Regions from separate parts of the Homo sapiens genome. Here region 2 is linked to region 1. The links are contacts of gene promoters, found by promoter capture Hi-C in human tissues and cell types (Jung and others, 2019). All regions are on one chromosome and are shown on one strand. Each heading gives the region's core, a stretch centred on a gene start or on the middle of the fragment in contact. The rest is flanking DNA. Distances are from core to core; before and after follow the strand shown. Region 1 holds the start of TBCEL (tubulin folding cofactor E like). Region 2 overlaps GRIK4 (glutamate ionotropic receptor kainate type subunit 4).

Region 1 (5,863 bases), core at 2,407-4,906:
TGAGCACTTGAAATGTAACTAGTGTCAAGTGACTGAGGAAATGAAACTCGAATTTAACTTAATTTTAATTAATTTCAATTTAAATAGCCACATGTGGCTAGTGGCGACCAGATTGAACAGAGCAGATACAGAAGAGCAAATAGCAGTGATAAATGAGGCTGGAAAAGTCAGCAGGGTCCAGATCTGGAAAAATTTTGAGAAGTACATTAATAATAATAGACGTTATCTTGAGACCCACAGAGAATCCTGAAAGGGTTTTAAGTTCCAGAGAATAACACAATCACATATGTGTTTTTGTTTGTTTGTTTGTTTGTTTTTTTGATACAGAGTCTCGCTCTGTCACCCAGGCTGGAGTGCAGTGGCACAACCTCGGCTCACTGCAACCTCCGCCTCCTGGGTTCAAGCGATTCTCCTGCCTCAGCCTCCCGAGTAGCTGGGATTACAGGCTTGCACCACCACACCCAGCTAATTTTTGCATTTTTAGTAGAGACGGGCTTTCACCATATTGTCCAGGCTGGTCTCAAACTCCTGACCTCTTGATCCATCTGCCTTAGCCTCCCAAAGTGCTGAGATTACAGATGTAAGTTTTAGAAAGATAATTCTGGCTGTCTTGGGGAGAAAGATGGGAGGTGGGTAGAGACATTGATCTTGTCTTTAGAAGTTTCATCTATAAGGGGAAAGATGGGAAAAGAAGCAGAAAAATGACTGGAGGATATCTCAGAGATACAAAGAAGTGTATAATCGACCACACCCAGCCACATACAATACTCATATATGTATTTATATACGTTGCACATAGTATTTGTTAACAGTAATGACCCATATTTCTTGCTTTTTTCCTAGTTGCTCACAGGGCAACTAGCCTCTTAAGCGTTTCTGGGTGTCCCCAAAGGTACCTGAGCTCAGAAGTAAGTCTGTCAACAGAGTATCCATGCAGCATCCACCTTGTACATTTTACTCCGCTCTTCTCATGGTCCTCACCACTGAGGCTACTTTTGACTGTGGCCATGCTGAGAGGTGACAGCGTGCTGGCAGTGGTGACAGCGTGCTGGCAGTCCTCACAGCCCTCGCTCGCTCTTGGCGCCTCCTCTGCCTGGGCTCCCACTTTGGCGGCACTTGAGGAGCCCTTCAGCCCACCGCTGCACTGTGGGAGCCCCTTTCTGGGCTGGCCAAGGCCGGAGCCGGCTCCCTCAGCTTGCAGGGAGGTGTGGAGGGAGAGGCGCGAGCTGGAACTGGGGCTGCACGCGGCGCTTGCGGGCCAGCTGGAGTTCCGGGTGGGCGTGGGCTTGGCGGGCCGCGCACTCGGAGCAGCCGGCCGACCCTGCCGGCCCCTGGCAATGAGGGGCTTAGCACCCGGGCCAGCGGCTGCAGAGGGTGTACTGGGTCCCCCGGCAGTGCCAGCCCACCGGCGCTGCGCTCGAGTTCTCACCGGGCCTTAGCTGCCTTCCCGCGGGGCAGGGCTCGGGACCTGCAGCCCGCCGTGCCTGAGCCTCCCACCCCCTCCATGGGCTCCCGTGCGACCCGAGCCTCCCCGATGAGCGCCGCCCCCTGCTCCACGGCGCCCAGTCACTTCCACCACCCAAGGGCTGAGGAGTGCGGGCGCACGGCGCGGGACTGGCAGGCAGCTCCACCTGCAGCCCCGGTGCGGGATCCACTGGGTGAAGCCAGTTGGGCTCTTGAGTCTGGTAGGGACGTGTACAACTTTTATGTCTAGCTCAGGGATTGTAAATACACCAATCGGCACTCTGTATCTAGCTCAAGGTTTGCAAACACACCAATCAGCACCCTGTGTCTAGCTCAGGATTTGTGAATGCACCAATGGACACTCTGTATCTAGCTACTCTGGTGGGGACTTGGAGAACCTTTGTGTGGACACTCTGTATCTAGCTAATCTGGTGGGGAGGTGGAGAACCTTTTGTCTAGCTCAGGGATTGTAAATGCACCAATCAGCGCCCTGTCAAAACAGACCACTCGGCTCTACCAATCAGCAGGATGCGGGTGGGGCCAGATAAGAGAATAAAAGCAGGCTGCCCGAGCCAGCAGTGGCAACCCGCTCGGGTCCCTTTCCACACTGTGGAAGCTTTGTTCTTTTGCTCTTTTCAATAAATCTTAGTACTGCTCACTCTTTGGGTCCACACTGCTTTTATGAGCTGTAACACTCACCGCGAAGGTCTGCAGCTTCACTCCGGAGCCAGCGAGACCACTAACCCACCAGAAGGAAGAAACTCCGGACGCATCCGAACATCAGAAGGAAGAAACTCCAGACGCGCCACCTTAAGAGCTGTAGCATTCACCGCGAGGGTCCGCGGCTTCATTCTTGAAGTCAGTGAGACCAAGAACCCACCAATTCCGGACACAATGCTAATGATCTCAGTGCTCTGAAAGCCAGTAATTCTTAAATTGCCAAGAAAGGCACTCTGTTCTCTGTGGAAGGGGGAGTAAAGCCCCTTCCTGAGCAACCTAAGATACAATTCTTGGCTAATCATCCCCTTTATACTCAGAGCAGTTTCTTTACCCATGACCTTCTGGCTTTTTTTTTTCCTCTCTACCCTGTCTAACCCTACCTATGGGATATGAGAAAACAAAACAGAATGACAAAAATAAGTCTCCAGGAACTGATGATGGTAAGGTGCTATTGGGTCTGTCCTAAATAATTTTGTTTCCCCCTTCTAGAAACCAATGCAGACATGCACATGCACATTACATCCCCCACGTCTTTTCTGGCACACACCACACAGAAGCACATACACTTTATGCACAAAGACATCTTCATCTCCTAGCACTTCAGGGGACATTCCCATACAAGGCTGAATTCACTTGGGGTTGAGCCAGCACCACGCCTATTCCATGTATGTTTCTGCAAAAGAAATGGACGAAGGAGTACATAAGCAATCACAGCTCAACAGTCAGATATAGTAATACTATGCATGGAGTTGGAGCAATAGCGTGGCATAAAGTGAAGTGCATGGACCCTGGTGCCAGCCTGACCTGGATTCAAATCTCACCCTGGTCACATTTACTAACTGGGTGGTCTTGGGCAGATCACTTAAGCACTCTGAACTTGTTTTCAATTCTATAAATACCATCTCTTTGGAGGGCTGTAAAAATTAAAAATAGCACATGCGCAGTGCCTGTACCTAGAAAGTGCTCAATAAATGAAAGCTGCTGTTACTACATTGGTGTTGGAAGCTCGGGATGCCACTTGTGAAGGGGGCACAGAAGAAAGGTCAGACTGCCACCATACCCTGAGGGCTCATCTAGTATAGTTCCCTCATTTTATGGTTGAGGACACTGAAGCCAGAGATAGGAAGAGACTTGGTCAAGGTCACACAGCAAATCAGTAACAGAGCCAGGCCAAGATTCCAAGTGTTTCTGGAAAGGTTCAGCCCAATGCTCTTTTCTGCAGCCCCTATTGTCCTCTGATATGACAATGTGTACTCCTGTTCTGCCCCTGGGGATTGTCCACTCAATGGGTGGGCACGAGAAAGAGCAGATGAGGTGTTTGTGGTAAAGCCTAAGCCAGTGCAGCCATCCCCGTCGCCATGGCAACCCCAGCGCGGTTGGGGAGGACCCGCTCCTCCGGCGCCCCCTCCCATTCACGCAGCGGACGTGACACGTGCGGCGGGGTCACGTGTTGTTGTTGGGCCGGGAAAGCTGCTTCCGGGTCAATGCAGGACACTGGGCTCCGGCGGCCAGAGTGGGGGACTAGGTGAAGCGGCGCCGGGCCGGGGCTGGCCGGGACCAGGCCCGAGGCTGAGCGGCGGCGACAGCGGTGGCCGGGAGGGGGGAGGAGAGGCGCAGCCAGAGGAGCCGCCGCAGTAGCTCCCCCGCCTCCCGGGCTGAGGGGTGAGTGGAGCCGGGCCCGCTGGCTCTGCCGGGCTCTCGAGGCCCGAGGCGTTCCCCTCTGGAGCCGAGGCGCGGAGGGTCGCTCCTGCAGGGTGCTGGGATAGGACACTCGGGGAAGGGTGAAAGCCACATGGGGCCTGTCTCGAGCAGCTGTGGGGATGGGAGACCTGCCCTGGGGCTAGAGGGAGGATGGGGCCTGCCTGGCCTGGGCTATGGCGGAGCTGGGAGGGTCTTGGGCTGGGCTGGGCTGGGCTGGGCTGGGGGACTGGTCCCGGGTTGGAGGAGGGCGTGTTGGGGAGCCTGCCCGGGTTCCTGGGAGAATCTAGGCGTCTCACCTTGCCCCAGCGTGGGGGATGGGTAGATGCCTCCCAGCTGTTAGAAGAGGGAGACGTGTCTGGGACTGCTGGGGAAATAGGAAACTTGTCTCTGAACTACTGAATCCCAGAAAAGAGGACATGTCCCCAGGGAGGTTTGCTGGGGGAAGGACGGGCATGTCTAGGCCCTTGGGACATTAGGCCTGCTCTTACCAGGGGCTGATAAAAGGATGTGGATGTGGTAATTGAATAAGGGCTTTTGGGAGAAAAGATTTGCCCCAAGGTTGGGAGACTGAGAACGAGGGTGTTGGACTGACAGGCGGGTGCCTTGTCGTGGGATCTTGGGGGAAGTAAGGATCTGTGTGGAGCTTCTCTGTTGAGTTCTAGGTCCGCTAGTAGGAAGACATTCTGGGAATTGGTGAAGAGAGGAGATTTAATAGTCTTTTCTTGGGACACAGTGATTCCAGAAGTTGTAGTTGAGGAAAGTTGGTTGGAAGTGTTGAACTGTATACAGTCAGTGGAGAAAGGAGGAGCTCTACTGTGAAGGTTGCTAGGCTACAAAGAGCTTGTAGGCAACGCCTAGGGCTGTTGAGAGAAGTTGGTAATGCTTTCAAGTCCAAATACAGGCTGAGCTGGGGCTTGTCCCTTGTTCATGTCATGCTGCTGTGGAGCTCTTACGTTTCCAGTAGTCTATCTTGAGCAAAGAGTATGAATAGGTGCTGAGGACTAAGGAAAACATTCACTCTTTGGGTCCTGAGATGCATTAGACCCAGATCTCTAGGGTGGTAGCTTTCAAACTTAAAAAAAAAAAAATTATGCCCCACAGTAATAAGTATGTCTTACATTCAGATCTAGTACATACGTAGGTATGAAGGGAAACTTTCACAAAGCAGTATTTACCCTTATTATATGTGATATGTTCTGCTAATTTCTATTATATTCCACCCTCTTGCATTAAAAAAAATGCTGGCTGACATTTACTAAATTGATGATTTGTGGGTCACAACTTGCAGTTTGAAAAACACTGTTTCTGAAGCACATTTATTTGGTGTCAATCAGTGTCCTCATTCTGTAAGCTTCTAAAGAGCAGGGATGATTCTAAGGAGATGGATTTTTTTTTTTTTTATTTTATTTTGGCCGGGGGAGAGGGAGGAGGGCAGCTAGGTGCAATTGATTGCTTCGGTTTAGATGTTTATACCACGTAGCATATTTGACCTGTGTTTTCTGAAGGACCATAATCTTGATCTTTAATATCTTGATGTTGCCTGATCATTTGATTGATGAAATTTTTTGTATGCGTGTGTGTTTTAGTTTCCTTTATCCTTTGCTGTGTCTGAGAAATATGAGAGGCCTAGTTCCACTTAGTTGCTTTATCACAACATAGTTAAAGAAATTTTATTTTACTGTTCCAATGTTGTGAAGATACACTGATTTTCTTTTCTGCTATTTAAAAACATCCCAAATTCTTCTTACTGCAGTAATTATTATGATATACTTTTTGCTACATGATGAAAAATATATGAAAAATACACGATAAAATATATACCAAAGCCATAGACATATTTAAAAGCCTTACAGTCTACGGCTTTGGTATATAAACTTAATCATAAACCTAAGTATAACTTTCAATCAGTTAACATCTTAATTCCCCTTACAAAAATTTTAGGTGGGGTCCTTAGAAAAATAGTATTAATTCATAATAA
Region 2 (5,352 bases), core at 796-3,295, 34 kb before region 1:
GGAGTTTCACGCAGAGTTCTCATTGGCTGATGGAAAACAAATTCTATGCAATTTCTGATTGTAAACTTAGAAAATTCAGAGAGAAACAAACAGCCGCTACCAACCACCTCCACCTCCACCACCGCTGCCACCACCTTGAATGGAATTGTCCTCACTTTTGTTGCTGTTGCAAATGTACTAAAATAAAGACATCTTTGGAAGATGACGAGCTTAATTCATGTTTTTGCCATTTGGGTTGGTCGGCATCCTCTTTATGCCAGGACAATCAGTTAGGGCTGCCGTCCTGGGGGCCAAATGGTACCCTGATTATTCCTGTGAGGGATACTCGTTTTGTCCTCACCTGACCTCACTCATGAATTTGAATCCTTTATCTTTTTTCTCTTTAACCATCAAATGACAACAAGCTGTGCAAGACACTTGTGTCTTTTTTTAAACCTTGCCTTGATCCTCGTGGAGAAACGTGGATTTGGTGGGAAGGGCACCCGAAGGCCAGCTGACAACAAACCCCAATGGTGCCACTCTGCTCCAACCTGCAGCTCCATCCTATGCTTCTCACAGACAACGTGGTTCCTACTGTCAGATCACATTTGGGGCGGGAAGGGTGGTTTTTTAAAAAAACTCGTTTTTATGAGCAGGCTATCTTGATCAATAGCAAACTTTTTTTAATGGATTAGTGAAATAAATGTCCCCATGCATCATTTATAGTCTGTTTCTTTCTCCGTGTGGAATCAAGATAAGACTGCCAGCACTAGACGGTTTCTGTTAGCTGCTGAGACCAGGGCCTCACCTTGCTCAAGCTAGTGGGTGAATTTGCAACCAGCTAATACTCTTCCTTGGTTTGTTTCCACTTTTTATCTGTTGGTTGTTGGCTTTCTTTTCCATTCTGTATTTTCTATCTGACTCTGTATACTGTATAAAGCAGTTTTTTCTTGTCTGTTTATCTTTCTTCAACTGGAATATTTACAATAAAACAGAAACAAATCCTGAAATGTTAGTGATGGATGACAGCTGTTTGGGTTTAGAAAGTATGGTTCAGTGTGTCTAATATCCAGGTACTAGACTTGAAAAGCAAATAAAATCATAAACCCACTTTTTGTCTTCCCCTCCACCTGCCCTCTCTGTCTCCTTCTCTCCACCTCCCTCTCTACTCCCCCACCCGCTTTGGCTCTTTGTTCAGATCCCAGAAAAGTCTAGGTGGCTTCTTTCAATTTTTAGTCCTAGGAGCCTGAGCCAATCCACCCCCCCATCCCCAAAAGCGGATACATATGTTAATGAAGTTCAGGATTCCTAGGGTTTTGTCTTCCTAAATGCACTTTCACAGAATAGTCATCTATTGATACCTAGGGTAACTCTAGTCAGATATCACCCCAGATTCCACTGGGAGCTTGAAGATTACATCAATTAAAATATAATACTTTGCTTTATTTCTTTTAATTGCTTTGCAGGGCCCCAACCGTCACAAGATCTCACCTCAGAAACCAGGTAGAGTGTAAGTTGAGCACGGAGAGGGCCGAAAATCTTTTGGCTTCCTCTAATCCACTGCTCATATGAGAATATTCTTCCTGGGAACTTGCCAGCCAGCTCTCTTATTGGTTAGGTGAGACTGAAATATCATGATAACCAATCCACCTGGGGCCACTCTGTGAAAGTTTCTTAGTTTTGGATTCCAAGGAGCTTAATTTTCTTTTGGAATCCAAGGGGGAACTTCCCCATGTTGTAGGAGTCAAGTACACAAGGCCAGAAAAGGGCTGGGGCATTTCAGCAACACCAGATTGGTGGTTTGAGAGAAGCTTGAGAGACTCATTTGTGGCCCTCCCACCAATGGGGTGTTCACAGCAAGGTAAAACAGTCTGGAAATGATAAGGGAGATTTGAGTGCCTGACTAGTTGTCAGCTCTCTCGGGGTAATAACGAAGAGGCCTGTTTGGAAAATTCAGAGAAGGAATCCTTTCATAAAGATTTTGCTTATAGCTAGTGCTTCCTATGGGGCCTTCTCAAAGAGAAATTAAAGCACCATGAGTAATTCCTTTGCCTTTCGGTGAATGGTGACTTTCTCCCCACAGGCAGGTCCCCACAGTGGCCAAACAGAGAGTGCCCTCAGGAACTGACAACCTGCCCATCCTAAGGTTTGCCTCAAAGGCTGGGGATAGCATGCTCTCCTAAGACTTTTCCCATAGGGGAAAAAGTTGTTACTGGGTGTGGCTTCCAAAGGAAAAAAAAAAACTCCGAATTTTAGAGCCTACATGGTCAACAAGCTTCTTGTAATTTGAGGGCAATCAAGCAAGAGAAGTTCCGCCACTACCGTAAGAACATTATCATTCAAGTTTTATGAATTTCATACCAATTTCCAAATCTGGAGAATGAATTAAACAAATACGAATGTTACCATTCAACAAACAGCAGAACTAATGCTGAGATCAAGAAAGAAAGAAGTCTATGAAGGCAACGAAGTAAAAAATAAGCTCTCTACCAGAAGTGGCAGAAAATTGAGGCCCCAAGAAGGGTCATAAAAAAATTGAGCATATACTATAGCTGTAGGTTAACTAAGCATATGCATATAAATATTTCACTCACCAGGATTTACCGAAGCATGTCAGTGCATTGTGACTGATGGTGTACCTACTGGGGACTTGATCCTATTTACAAGTTAGACTAGATACAGATGATGGATGACAAATCCCTCCATCATCTGTATCTAGGGCAAAAGATCCTCCTGTAGAAAATTAGCTGAAGATCCTGCCCATTCTTCAGTATGCCTTGTGACCAATCAAGTGTTGTCTCTTGGTTGTCAGGGAACACTGGCACTTTTCCATAGATTGGTGAGTGACCTGGAGAGGGTATTTACCTAGCACCCAGCACCACATTAGATCTTGCCAGAAATGAGACATAGAAGCAGTGATCTATACTCTGCTTGAAGGAAAAAACTAACTTTACCTGTAAGAAACTGAAAAAAAAAATCACACAAAATATAACAATAAAAGTGCTACAGTGTGTGGTTTGGAATATTAACCATGTAGAAATTCAGAGGAGCTCAAGATTCTAAGTAGTTAAAAGAGCAAAGGAAGGCTGGGTGGAGGAAGCAGGACTGTTTGTGTGTTTGGGTTGTTAATTAATTAATTTATTTTTTTGATGTCTGGGAAATAAGATCTTGCTCATTGCCCTTGGAGTGAAATATGGTTAATTCATGTTGATGAATTCAGCACCCCTCTGATGAAAGATAGTTTGTTGTAGCTGTTGTTTTGTTTTCACCCAGTTCGTCCCTTTTTGAGGAATTCTGGCTCTCAAACGATGCTTCTTCCTGTTTGCTGCCAACACTAGAGATTCTCACCAATGTCTCATCCCTTGGCTTCTTTAAGTTGTATTAGTGGAATCAGCTGCAGATACAAACAGCCTAGCCCTACAGAATACAGAAAGGCTAACTGAAACAAGCAATGAAACTGTCTGAAGTGGATTGGGAGCTCTTTTCAGAAAAAAAAAAGATCAAAGAGTTTTAAAATTGGGGGAAGGAGTAAGAACACAGTACTGAAGGTCTGGAGCCAGTGTATAAATTAATACAGAACCAAACGTCCAAATTTCTGATGTACGGGAACATTTAGAACTGTCTTCCTTTTCAGTCCATTTAACCATCCTGTTACTCATAGCACAAGAAGTCTACCTGGAAAGGTATTCTACTTGGATTGTTCTGATTCGCTTCTTAGTAGCTTTTGCATTAAAAATAATAAAATGTAACTTCCATTTCCATCATCTGTAATCCTACAGCACCGAGTGGGCTACAAAAGCATTTTAAATCACTAAGATTGGTCAAATGTGAAGGTCAACGGAGAGAAGTCACAAACAGGTGGACAGCACAGGCTGTCATTACCAGGAGACTGTGCCCTCAAGCTCAAGTGCTGACAGAACTTTAAAACCCGCTTACGGAGGATCAGATGAGAAACAGTTCAGTATAGAGAGACTTGAAGTCATTTTTCTTTGCTGATTTTTCCCTTCTTATATAAACTAAACTGGTGTGTATGTGTAGGAGTTTAGCACAGACATACAGGTTCCTGCCAGTGTGTGTGTGTGCGTGCACGGTGTATGGGTGTGTATATGGTATGTGAGTGTGATGTGTGTGCATGAGAGTACGTAGCAGTTTAGCGTAGACCTACAGGTTCCTGCCACTGTGTGTGTGTGACATGTATGTGAGTGTGGGGTGGCATATGTGTGTGTGTGGTGTGTGGGTGTGTATATGTGTGTGGTGTGTGTGTGGTGTGTGAGTGTATGAGTGTCAGGGTGTGTGTGGTGTGTGTATGAGTGTGGTGTAGGGTGTGGGGGGGTATGTGGGTGTATATATGTGTGTGTGTCATGTCTGAGAGCATGGGATGTGTATTTGTGTAGCAGTTTAGAGTAGACCTACAGGTTCCTGTCATTCTATGTGTGCCTGTGGGGTCGGAGGTGTGGGGTGTGTGTGGGTGTATTTGTGTGGTGTGTGGGTATGTATATGTGTGTGTGTGGTGTGGTGTGGTGTGTGTGTGTGTAGCAGTTTAACACAGACCTACAGCTTCCTCTCAGTGTGTGTGTGGGGTGTGTGTGTGGTGTGTGGGTATGTACATGTGTGTGTGATGTATGTGTGTAGCAGCTTAGCAGAGACCTATAGGTTCCTGTCAGTGTGGGTCTAGTGTGTGTGCACCAAGTGGGTGTGTATATGTAAGTGTGTAGTGTGTGTGTGTAAGAGTGTGTGGTGTGTGTGTAGCAGTTTAGCACAGACTTTCCGGCTCCTGTCAGCGTGTGTGTGTAGCGTGTGTGTTGTATGATGTGTGTGCGTGTGTATAGCAGGTTCCTGTCCATCCTCCTAATGTCCCTTTCAAAAGACAGAAGACTCTTCCCATTATCGCTTCAGCCTTTTCTCTGTGCTTCTAGGTAACACTGCTGGCTTTAGTCTTCTGGCTTTTGGAGGCTTAGTTCTCACTGAATGGTCTTTGATGTAATTTATTTCTAAGGTGAATGTATATGTAGATGCATGAGGTAAAAGGTGTTTTTCCCCATTCCCAGATGAGTGATAAGATGTCTGAGCTGACTTCTTAAAACCTATTGCCACTCTACCTCCATCAGCTGCAAAAGAAAGTTCCTCTAGCATTAGTAAGTGACTAGAAAAAATGTCGTGCCGATAGTGTGATAGAACACAGCCAGAAAGAACAAGAGCGGTGCAGGCCGGCTTTCACTTACACTCCATTCTTATCATCAATAGCCTCATCATTTTAAGCAGAAAATCATTTTCAAAAAGCTCAGACAACGAAATTGTTAAAATTTGAGTGGTTGGATTGACCAATAAAGTACAGAATTCAGAAACAGTCTTACTCAGGTAGCCTATCTCTTG

What was found. The method cuts DNA at HindIII sites, captures the fragments that hold promoters and counts their contacts. A contact is called where the count stands out against the background at its distance.
Region 2: a fragment that was not itself captured here is called in contact with the fragment with the promoter of TBCEL in region 1 in 1 of the 25 tissues and cell types used here (hippocampus).

What each region holds. Positions count from the first base shown.
Region 1 is chr11:121,020,446-121,026,308 of GRCh38, forward strand. TBCEL (tubulin folding cofactor E like) reads left to right here and starts at 3,657. Exons shown (of 9, transcript NM_001363644.2): 1 at 3,657-3,846. TBCEL-TECTA (TBCEL-TECTA readthrough) reads left to right here and starts at 3,657. Exons shown (of 30, transcript NM_001378761.1): 1 at 3,657-3,846. RefSeq lists silencers at 3,471-3,620, 3,641-3,910. The HindIII fragment of the contact is 9,289 bases long and covers 1-5,863 here.
Region 2 is chr11:120,987,817-120,993,168 of GRCh38, forward strand. It overlaps GRIK4 (glutamate ionotropic receptor kainate type subunit 4), which reads left to right. Exons shown (of 21, transcript NM_014619.5): 21 at 1-1,090. Among named protein-coding and RNA genes, the nearest start is that of TBCEL, 34 kb to the right of the region's middle. The HindIII fragment of the contact is 4,948 bases long and covers 1-4,519 here.